2 separate regions of the Homo sapiens genome follow, and region 1 is linked to region 2. The links are contacts of gene promoters, found by promoter capture Hi-C in blood cells and fetal thymus (Javierre and others, 2016). All regions are on one chromosome and are shown on one strand. The core of a region is centred on a gene start or on the middle of the fragment in contact, and the rest is flanking DNA. Distances in the headings are between cores, read along the strand shown. Region 1 overlaps PTPRK (protein tyrosine phosphatase receptor type K). Region 2 holds the start of KIAA0408.

What was found. The method cuts DNA at HindIII sites, captures the fragments that hold promoters and counts their contacts. A CHiCAGO score of 5 or more calls a contact.
Region 1: a fragment that was not itself captured here is called in contact with the fragment with the promoter of KIAA0408 in region 2 in 1 of 17 cell types (total CD4 T cells); the score reaches 6.1 in total CD4 T cells.

The regions. Positions count from the first base shown.
Region 1 is chr6:128,322,437-128,328,113 of GRCh38, reverse strand. All of the region lies in intron 2 of PTPRK (protein tyrosine phosphatase receptor type K), which reads left to right. Among named protein-coding and RNA genes, the nearest start is that of PTPRK, 200 kb to the left of the region's middle. The HindIII fragment of the contact is 3,214 bases long and covers 1-3,128 here.
Region 2 is chr6:127,455,560-127,460,857 of GRCh38, reverse strand. It overlaps KIAA0408, which reads left to right and starts at 1,469. Exons shown (of 6, transcript NM_014702.5): 1 at 1,469-1,683. All of the region lies in intron 7 of SOGA3-KIAA0408 (SOGA3-KIAA0408 readthrough), which reads left to right. The HindIII fragment of the contact is 12,466 bases long and covers 1-5,298 here.

The sequences.
Region 1 (5,677 bases), core at 272-2,771, 870 kb before region 2:
TGGTGGTACTGCACAGTGGACGGAGCTGTGTGCATGTAGCAGACATAGTCCCTCAGTGAGCTTGTAGCAACAAACCTGGCCTGGTGACTGCCTTGCTGTGGCACACACATACCCCAGGCCTCATGCCACTCTGCTGCAGGGAGAATGTGTCCTGTTTCCCTAGCTTCCCTAGAGCAGGATTGGCTCTGGCCTGAGTGACCCAGCAGACTTTATCTTCCCGTGAGCTGCAACTGCACCTTCTTTAAGGAAATCTGATTCTCAGCAACCTCCCCTGTCTATATTGGTTTCTTTCTTGGGTACTTTGATTGTTCTTTAAGGTTTTCTTCACAGCGTTAAAGTTTCTATCTTCTTATAGGTAGTAATTCTTTATATTACATTTTCACTGTTAAATTTACTGTGTGGCTTCTCTCTTCTGATTGGACTCTGAATAATTCAGGTGCTTTCTAAGAGAACAAAATTACCCTTCTGAGGTTGACAAGAGATATCCCAGTAAATCATTTAAAATTGGCACAAAAGCAATGTATAATTGGGGGCCAGAATCAGACATTTAGAAACTGTGAGACAGTTTGAGGACAGAAAACTGGCATGATGTGTGGAGAAAATAATGAGGGGTCTGTCAGACTGGAGAAGGTGGTTTGTGAAGAGAAGTGGGAGGTAAAATGACCAGTTACTTTGGGATAAGATCATGGAAAGTTGTGAATACTAGGCAAAGAAATTGAAATTTTGCTTTTAGTTTATAGGGCACATTCAACAGATTTTAAATAAGAACTGACAATACAAATATTATGTTAGTGTACTAAAGTATACCAACACATACATATATAAAGGAGTTTTAGAAGAAAGTATGGAAATCTATTTATCATGAATTATTTTCTTTGCTATTGATCCAATTTCCCATGTAAATACCTTATTCATAGAAGTGTAACTTAAAGATAAAAAATAATTAATGTATAAAATCCATAGGGCATTACATATTCATCTATATACTAGATTATGTTATTTTCCTTGCCCATTCTTTTTAGTAAAAACTGTCATTTGTTTTAAGTCTTCTCTGCCTTTCTCTTTTTTAATGAATTGGAATAAGAAGTACTCAATTTTTGTATTGTGTTTTTTGAAATATTTAGTTATTTATAGGATCCTATTTGTATCCTATAAATACAAATAGAATTTATTTTTAAAAGATTTAAAAAACACGCTTGTGTTTATTTACTATTTATCATTATTCATTTGATTTTCCTCTTGTAAGATAGTATTCATGTAGTCTCTGTTTTAATAAAAATGTGCAAATCTAATGCCTATTCATTATAGAACTCTCAGAAACTGTACATATGCAAAAACTTTTTTGAAAACCTAGAAGACAATTACAGCCCACCAGATAATATACCGTTAAGATTTTGCTACATATTTTTCCAGTCATATGTACAAGTGTATGTGTGTGCATATGTGAATATACACACATTTACACAGATATAATTATTTAACACAAATATGTATTTTTCATAAGTGGGTTTAATATTTTATAACCTGCATATTTTACTTAACATATTGTAAATATCTTCCATAAAATGTTTTAAAATAATATTATTCTTAATGACTGCATTATTGTTCATTAAATTGATTTGCTGTAATTTTGCAAATTACTGATTATTGAATATTGAGAATACTTAATTTTTCTCTGTTTTAAATAGTGTAATGAGTTAGGCATCTTTTAAAGCTGTATCTTTTATACATACCTGATGGTTTATTTAGTATACATTTGTAGACATGGAATTCCCAGATCAGAAGGTATGTATCTCTTTTTTTAAAATATACTTTAAGTTCTGAGATACATATGCAGAATGTGCAGGTTTGTTACATAAGTATACATGTGCCATGGTGGTTTGCTGCACTCGTCAACCCGTTGTCTACATTAGGTATTTCTCCTTATGCTCTCCCTCCCCTTGCCTCCCAACAGGCCCTGGTGTGTGTTCCCCTCTCTGTGTCCATGTGTTCTCATTGTTCAGTTCCCACTTATGAGTGAGAAAATGTGGTGTTTGGTTTTCTGTTCTTGTGATAGTTTGCTGAGAATTATGGTTTTCAACTTCATCCATGTCCCTGCAAAGGACATGAACTCATCCTTTTTTATGGCTGCACAGTATTCCATGGTGTTTATGTGCCACATTTTCTTTATCCAGTCTACCATTGATGGACATTTGGGTTGGTTCCAAGTCTTTGCTATTGTGAATAGTGCTGCAGTAAACATACGTGTGCCTGTGTCTTTGTAGCAGAATGATTTATAATCCTTTGGATATATACATAGTAATGGGATTGACACGTCAAATGGTATTTCTAGTTTTAGATCCTTGAGGAATCACCACACTGTCTTCCACAATGGTTGAACTAATTTACACTCCCACCAACAGTGTAAAAACATCCTATTTCTCCACATCCTCTCCAGCATCTGTTTTTTCTTGACTTTTTAATGATCACCATTCTAACTGGCGTGAGATGGTATCTCATTGTGGTTTTGATTTGCATTTCTCTAATGACCAGTGATGATGACCTTTTTTTTTATGTTTGTTGGCCGCATAAATGTCTTCTTTTGAAAAGTGTCTGTTCATATCTTTCACCCACTTTTTGATGGGTTTGTTTTTTTCTTGTAAATTTGTTTAAATTCCTTGTAGATTCTGAATATTATTCCCTTGTCAAATGGATAGATTGTAAAAATTTTTTCCCATTCTGTAGTTTGCCTGTTCACTCTGATGGTAGTTTCTTTTGCTGTGCAGAAGCTCTTTAGTTTAATTAGATCCCATTTGTCAATTTTGGGTTTTGTTGCAATTGCTTTTGATGTTTTATTCATGAATATCTCTTAAAGGTCTTTTATGTCAAATTGCTGTCTATAAAGGTTGCACTTAAAACAAACAAAAAGCATATATAGTTTTCTCTGTGTTGAATGATATATTTGAGAACTCTATTGATCAAGAGACTGTAAGGAATATTTGTAAGGCCACTTTAAAGAAGTTTTAATTAAAAGCTAGTACATTGTATGTGTGGGAACATAGATGTTTTATTAAGCCTTGAGATAACTAAACTCTTGTTAGAAATCTGAGGAATTAGTTAGCTGGTAACAGAACAATCGTAAATAAGCTTAAATTATAACATAAAGTATGAGAGAAGTACATATTGTATAATTTCCCAAGTGTAAGGATTGGGAGCCAGTTATTCTGGGAGACTACAGAAGTGATTTTTAGATGTTGATAAGAATAGCACAGTATCTTCTGTGTTTGGGATGATGGAAGGGAATTTTGTTTCAGACAGGCAGCTTCCTCCCTAGTGCCTACTGGGTAAATTGCCGTTATATCAAGTCAGTAGGCAGAAAGATTTAGATGGCTTTTTGGTGCTAGTGCTTTCTTCCTCCTTTCTGGAACTGTGCAATAAATGCATTATTATTCCAGAGCACTCGGAGAATGTGGCAGTAGTCAGGCATTATTGAAAGAGGGCCATTTAGCGGAAACATTCTATAGAGATGAATTATCAACACTATTTTTCTTTATTATTTAACTTGCTTGAAATGTTGAAATAGTGTAGACAAGCTTTTATTTTGTGACTTTTGTCTTCCTAGTGATCAAATTGATAATGCCTACAAATGAATATACCTTGCCCATCCGGTTTCCCTAATAAGACAGATAATTATTGTAGCTTAAGGGTACAACTGACTGAAAATTCCTAAATGGTCTTTATAGTAAATATTATGCTATATAATTAAAATGTGACACAAAGCATATTTTTACTCCAAAGTTTATTTTATAATAGGAAAAAATGACTATTAGAAAGCCAATAAATCATTTAGAGATTACTACTTTAAAGTTGACATTCAGAAGCCATAATTGATACAGACCTCTAAAAATAATTTAAATGCACTACTGCCATAATATTCCACTGAGGGGAGGGGGTGGAACTGTTATAGTAGTGGAGAAATAGGCTACAGGTTTGTGAAGATGCTGAGGCCCAGTAACAAACACTAGGTAACTTATCCAAGATCTCAGGGCTGGTCCTCGTTGAAAGGAATGATTGGTCTGCTATGCAGTGGCAAATCTGAAAGACATCTTGCCAAATCAACCATTGACTTCAGAATGTGAATATAATAAAGAATAGAAACATCCTGCTTCTATAAATTGGGTTGGGATCCAGGATATCCTTTTTAAAAATAAAGACATAATTTCTCCAAAATACACACGGACAGTTTATTCTATTAATGTGCCGTCTGTGAGACTCAGAAAGAAAGAAAGAGAGAAAAAAAAAAGAATCCTAGCTTACAAGAGAAGATGATAACTAGGAAAAAGAAGTGAACAATAATATCAGCCACTATCACTATGATCTGTTTATTCTGTACTTCGATTATACTGAAGTGTTACAGAAATCTTCCCAAAAGCTCTCAACCAGAGGCTACCTACCACTCAGTGGCAATCGGTCACATTTGAAATTTGGCTTCTCAAATAGTTGACACCATCCTCTCTGCCATGATTTGCATCTGTTGTTGAGGGTTAATTGAACAAGTTAGACTAGTAGTTATTGAGTGGTTAATGTGTCATGGGTACAAATTTTGGGGAGGGAATGCAGAAGATTGATTACTTTTACATGTTGTCAGGAAGAAAGGGTCAAGTGCAACTCTTATAACACTGAGTTTTATAACACTACATCTGATATATTTTGGTTAAAATTACATGCTAGCAAAGAAAAAAGATATTTTACAATAAAATTTGTGTTCCATCTTCTGTGTAATAAATAGGCATATTTGCATTTTTGTGATATGTGTCTTTGTTAAAATCCACAATGACATGAGAACAATTGGTTGTCTTACTGGAGAGTTTTCTGGGACTAAAAGCAGCAGCCCGTTGTTCAAGTCTCATTTTTGTACTTAGTCTCTGTGTGGCCTTTGTCTGCAATGGAAAGTCTATATGTGAGCTATGAGAGTGGGACTCTATGTCCTGTGCCTCCTCATGACAGATAACCAATGAACACTTACTAAGTCAAAGGGATAGAGTAGATTGGTGATTTTAAACTGGGTTTCTTGTAGCTCTACAAGAGTTTAGGGACTGTTACAGAACTGGGGCCAGTAGCAGTGGTGATTAGCTGACACCTTAGTGGGTGAGACTCCAAGTGGGGAAATCTGCTGTGTCCTGATCCTCAGCTCTAGGCATTTTTAACTTTAGCCCTCATACTGACACTACAAAGTGTCCTCATTCCCTGAACTGAGGTTCAAAGTTAGTATGTTACAAATGATCACATAACTTGTATAAATGATGATTTTCCAATACGAAATTAGAAATGGTTCCATTGTTTGCACTCTAAGCACATCTCCCTGCAATAATATTCTGGATAGCGAAAAATAAAGGTGTACCCTTTGTGTAAACCAGGCCAATAATGTATCGCTTTTGTGTATGTGTGTATACATATATATATATATTATATTAAAAGACTTGTGTTCAGTAATACCAGAGATTTAGAGTGAGATCTGGATTTGAACCCAGCTTTGAGTGTTACTAATTGTGCCTCAATTTCCTAATTTGTAAAATAGGATAATAACAGGTTGTTGTGGAGACTAAATGAATTGATACAGAATGTGTACTTTGAACACTGTCTGTTACCTAGTAAGAATTCAGTTCATCTACTTATTTGATTGATGTATTTCTGTGGC
Region 2 (5,298 bases), core at 220-2,719:
TATAATTATGTCTTTAAGGAAGAATCAGGGTCTGCAAGATCACACAGATAAGTGGTGGCAGCAGAATTGAAACTTAGATCTCTATGACAAAATTCCATGGTTTGCAATCAGACAAAACAGTTCAAACCCGTTTCCTCCACATGGGTGCATTTCTATGAACTTTTGCATGATGCTTTACCACAATGAGCCTTGCTTGGGTTTTATCAGTAAGATCAGATTATCAGTATCTAGAGACAGAATTGCTCTGAGGGTGAACTCAGATAAAGGTCTGTTCAAAGTACTTAGCACAGAACCTTGCAGAGGGTTGCCCCTCAGTGAATAATCACTATTATTACTATAACTATCACTGTTATTGTTGTTATTGCTGTTGAGATTATGATGTCAGGCTTTCCAGACACAGAGTATGGTTTCATTTGATTGTCCTACATGTATTAAAGTCCTACTGTGAGCAGGTTACTATTACTAAACTTTAGCTCCTCATGAAATGTTTATCTGGAAGCAGGTGAAAATAATGTGAGTGAATATGTATTACTTTAAAGACCACACCAGGGAAGCTCTTCAGACTTGAAGATAAGACCTTATTGTTTAAACTTGTGTATTTGCTAAGTTAGGCAAAAAATTGCTCTAGAGACTTTTTTGACTAAATTAAACCAAATATCATCAGATGCATGTGTGTACAAAGCCACAATAAACCTGAAAATGTCGCTGGGGAGGCAAGATCTCCTAGCATTTCAGAACAGGCTGATTTGATCATGATTTAGAGAGCTTTTCCATACACTTAGGCTGCTTTCTCTTCCTATGGCTGCAGCACACTTTAGTGGAAAATAAGCCCATAGGTATCTCATTTTTGGGGTGTGTGTGTGTGTGTGTTTTGTCCTCCCACAATAAGAAATCTCATCCTTTCCCATGGGCTCTGATTTTCTCTAACGTAAAGACATCGCTACTACTGTAGATAAAAGCAACACACTGTCAGAATCACAGAGAGCTAAGAGGTTGGACTTTATGTTCCATTTCTATTTTATTTGAAGATAGAAGTTTGATAACTTTCACAGATCTTTTGAGAGTGCATAATATATATAATTATGCTACACATATTGTTCTGCCACATCCAGATGCAAACTTCTAAAGGTGCAGCAGAGTACATCCTGCCACCAGCTGAGAAGGAGAAAGAATTATGGAAGGAGGGAGATAATTCTTGCCTATAAAAAAATGAGTTTACTTTCCTAATAAAATAAATCTAAAATTGGCCATTGTCATTGTATGATGTTAACAACCAGCTCTTTTGGCAAGTTTGAAAATACTGGGCTCCATTATAAAAGCTAAAAATGTCCTGGACCTGGAGTTGTTTACCCAGAGCATGAGCTGCTCTAAAGTTACAGAGCTCTGGTTGGAAGAGGTGGCTTGAAGGCCGCCTCCAAGTAACTGACGTCACAGTAGTCTCAGCTGCTGCTGTGACACTAAGCTGAGCAGCTTTTTGACTTGTAAAAGTGGTGAAGGTTTCAAAGGGACTTGTCAGTACTGCTCTGTGGAATGGTTGGACTTATTTTGCATCCCCTTTTCTTGTAAAGAATCGAGATTCACCGAGCTGAGACTTTTCTCTTTAAGACAGCTAGCCATCCACTTTCTTCCACTGCTAATTGACCAGTGGTCGAGCATCCATAGGATTTCTCCCCAGTGTGAAAGGTATGTTTCTTTCCGGCAAGTTTACAAGCAAGTGACTAATTATGGCAGGATACAAAGGGGCTGCTGTTGAGATGTTTTAAACTATGGATACTGTTTAAGTGGAGTGTAATTTCAACATCTGTCTCTGCTGTTGTCTGTGTCTGGGCTTAAAAACAGTGGGCGGGGTGCATAACAGATTGTACTGACTCCTAGGAAAAAGGCTGTTCAGCTGCTCAGGGTGGATTTCCCAACTGTGGACTGACAGTACCATCCGCTCTTTGAGACTGTTTTTCCAACACTGCTTCTCAGTTGTTTGAAAAGCACTTTGCCCATCATTGATTTTCACTAAGTATATTTATTCAAATGTGATTTTTTTTATTCATATAAAGACTTTTAACATTTGCAAATTAAAGGTCACAATCCTGGAGACTTGGTATTTGAAAATTGCGGTGAAAAATAAATTTTAGTTTTATCTAAGGTGGTGGTGGACTCACTGTAGAGTTAGTGTTTCTGTAATTTGAGCTGAAGTCTATGCCATTCATAATTGAATAATCTACGTTTAGGAGGGAAACTTACCACTATGTCTTTTGTTCACGATGGTTAGTTTTAGACATTTGTTTACTCAAACCAAATGTTTGCTTTTAAAGTTTGCATTTTATAAGTAAAATCAGTGTGCATACAGCTTGGATGTTTTCTAATTTGAGTAAATAACTGTAAAGAAAACAAGGAAGAAGATAATTAAATGAAACGGTAAAGTTGATTCATTCGGAATTGCATGTGGTAGTGTCTCTTTGACCTTGTTGGAGCATGAGGAATGTGCTAAATCAGCAATACACAGCAATGAAAAAAATTTCCCTTTTACTCTAACAAAATCAAATCATGGTGGTCTTTGGAAAGATTCAATTGCAAGTGAACAATAGAGAGGAATGAGATTTATTAATTCATTGAAATAATTCAAGTGATTATAATAGCCTGGAGAAAGGGATAGAGAATTTAGGAGGTAAATGGTACATTACTCTGATAGGTTATAAGCTGGGGAATTCCTAATCCATCAAAGTTAAGCAGAAGCAAAACATCTTCAGGCCAAATGAGTCTTCTAGGAATTGTGAGATTAGCAGTACCTACTGTGTGTGGCATTTCTATTGGAATATGTAACCTCTTATAAATGAAAAATCTTTAATTATGTGAAAAGTGATATGTTTAGCAAAAGGAAATAAGGACAGCAAGAAACAAGTACTCTAAACAATAATCTAAAAAGAGAGAAGTAGCAATGGAGCAGCTGCCCCTAAGGAACGCTGTTTAGTTTGTTTGGATGCAGTCCAGTTTTCAATGGGCGAGTTGGAGGTTGAAAGGGTAGTGACCCAGGTGTCCTAAGAATGGAGCACCCCTCAGAGAAAGAATTGCTGCCATGACCAAACTGAGGCTAATTTGGGGGTGAAAATAATTTCTTGTGAGACTTGTGTGTTACTCTTAAACTTTGCTTACTGGTAGGGCCGGAAGGCTAGCAGAACTATTTGCCTCCCATCACCATACTTATGCAACCCACTCACAACTCTTTATAATTCTGGCTTTCAGCCCTGGAAAGGGGAAGTAAGTTAAAAGGGATTATGCAATGCTGGTTTAGAGTTGGGGTGTGTGACTAAGTAATGCAGCTCACTCTGTCCTCTTACATTTGCTCTAATAAATTTTTATTCTGAAATGGAATTCTAGAAGGAAGAACATAAACTGGAGAGCCAAAGAGATATGGGGTAGGGGATGCAGATAGCAGAAATCCTTCCTTCTCTCCCACATAGATGCCAGTATCTGTGGGAGAAAATGAGTGACAACTAGGAACAAAAAGAACTTTTATTTTTGCCCCAGTAGAGAGCACTTAAATTGAGTTTTTGAATCTGCTGAACCACTTTACCCCATAACTTCTCATTACGAAACATTCTATCTCTACAAAGTTGCCCCTTCAGTTTGATATTTTTTGTAATATTTAAGTCAGATTTATAACAAAAGCAGTTTTACATAAGATTTGTTCACATTTTTATTAACAATAAAACTTTTTTCTTTAAATATGTGACATGTATCTTTAAAATATTTGAAAAAAGGCAAAAGAAGATCATGGAGAATATGAGAGTTCACACAATTACACTTGCTTCTATCTCGTTTTAAAATAAAGACCAAAATAATCTGTTTTTTTTCCAGAGAACAACATGGAGAGGGATAGATGGAGAAAGAGAGGAGAAAGGGAAGGAGGGAGGAAAGACAAGAAGAGGAAGGGAGGGAACAAAGGACAGAAGGAAGAAAACAAGAACCAAGTATTTTTCAGGCATTTGCTATGATCCAGAGCAGTGTTTAGGCACTTCTTTTAAGCATTTTTCCCTTTTGCTCACTTAATCTCCAAAACAATTCTATGCCCCCCCCCCACCACTTTATATTTAGAGGTGGAAGCAATATGTTTGGCTGCGTTACATCTAACATTATATTTACGACAAGACTGAGATGCTAAGAAGGCCAAATCCTTCCACAAAAAATTGGCACAGATATTGCTCTATAGAAATGTTCTTGCAAAGGCTTGTTTCTGATCCATAACTATTACATTTCTTGGCACTAGCAATTGCTCTGGGCCTGGAAAGGAAAAGCTCCATACATTGGTCCTTCTCCATATTAAGGGATGAGTTTGGCTCTTTGCAAATAGGTGCAGGATTCGGTCTGCTTCAGGACTGTTACCTGGGTTTAGATATAGTCTTGTTATCAAGAGCAAGACTGATCTAGGGTATTCCTGAATGATCTTCCGGTAGGTTAAAAAGAGAAAGGCCTGGCATCTTTCAACAGTAGCATGGAAGCGATTCAAGAAGAGTTAGGAATAGAAGGAAAAATTGGAGCCATTTGCTACATAATTGTAGAAAAGACTTTATGGTGATTTCTGAACATTTCCAATGTTTAAAGACAGTTGGGATAAAACATGGATTTATCATAGCTCCTCTTTTCCAGGTAGCTTGAAATTAGTCTGCATCCTTTTTTAGTTTCTTTGGTTAAATCTGCATTTATCTCTTATTATCTCAAACCACACCATTCTTCCTAAGAAGTTCCAGTGGCAAATACTTTCTAGTCAGCAAGGTAGTTTCACCACACAGTTAATTACGTATAGTTTTAAAGCAGTCTGCTAGTTTCAAGACAGGCACTGTCTGCATTTCCTATGAAGAATTGTTAGACGAACCTAAAAGATTACTAGGTATTCAAGATCAAGATCAATGGAAATTAGATTAGCCAAAACAAACAAAAACCAAAACTCTGTATGTTCTTTACCATCTTTATTTTATTTGTTCTTCACTGACATTTATTATGGCAAGTACTTGTGGTTACTGGTTTATATGTGGGAAAGATAGCAAAGAAAGGGGTGACAGAGGAGGTGGAGAAATGAGGTCAGAAATTGAGCATGGCCAAATGGATAAAATGAGATATGATAGCACCTTTAATAGCCAGATATGAAATTATGTATTTTTCGTGACTGAATTAATCATAATAGTGCTAGTGCCAAAGACATAGGAAAAAATTATCAAAATATCTTTAGTAAATAGTTTGAGAGTAAAGTAACAATATAGATCCCAAAATTATTAGGGTGTTTTGAAGGTAGAACCCTGCATATAT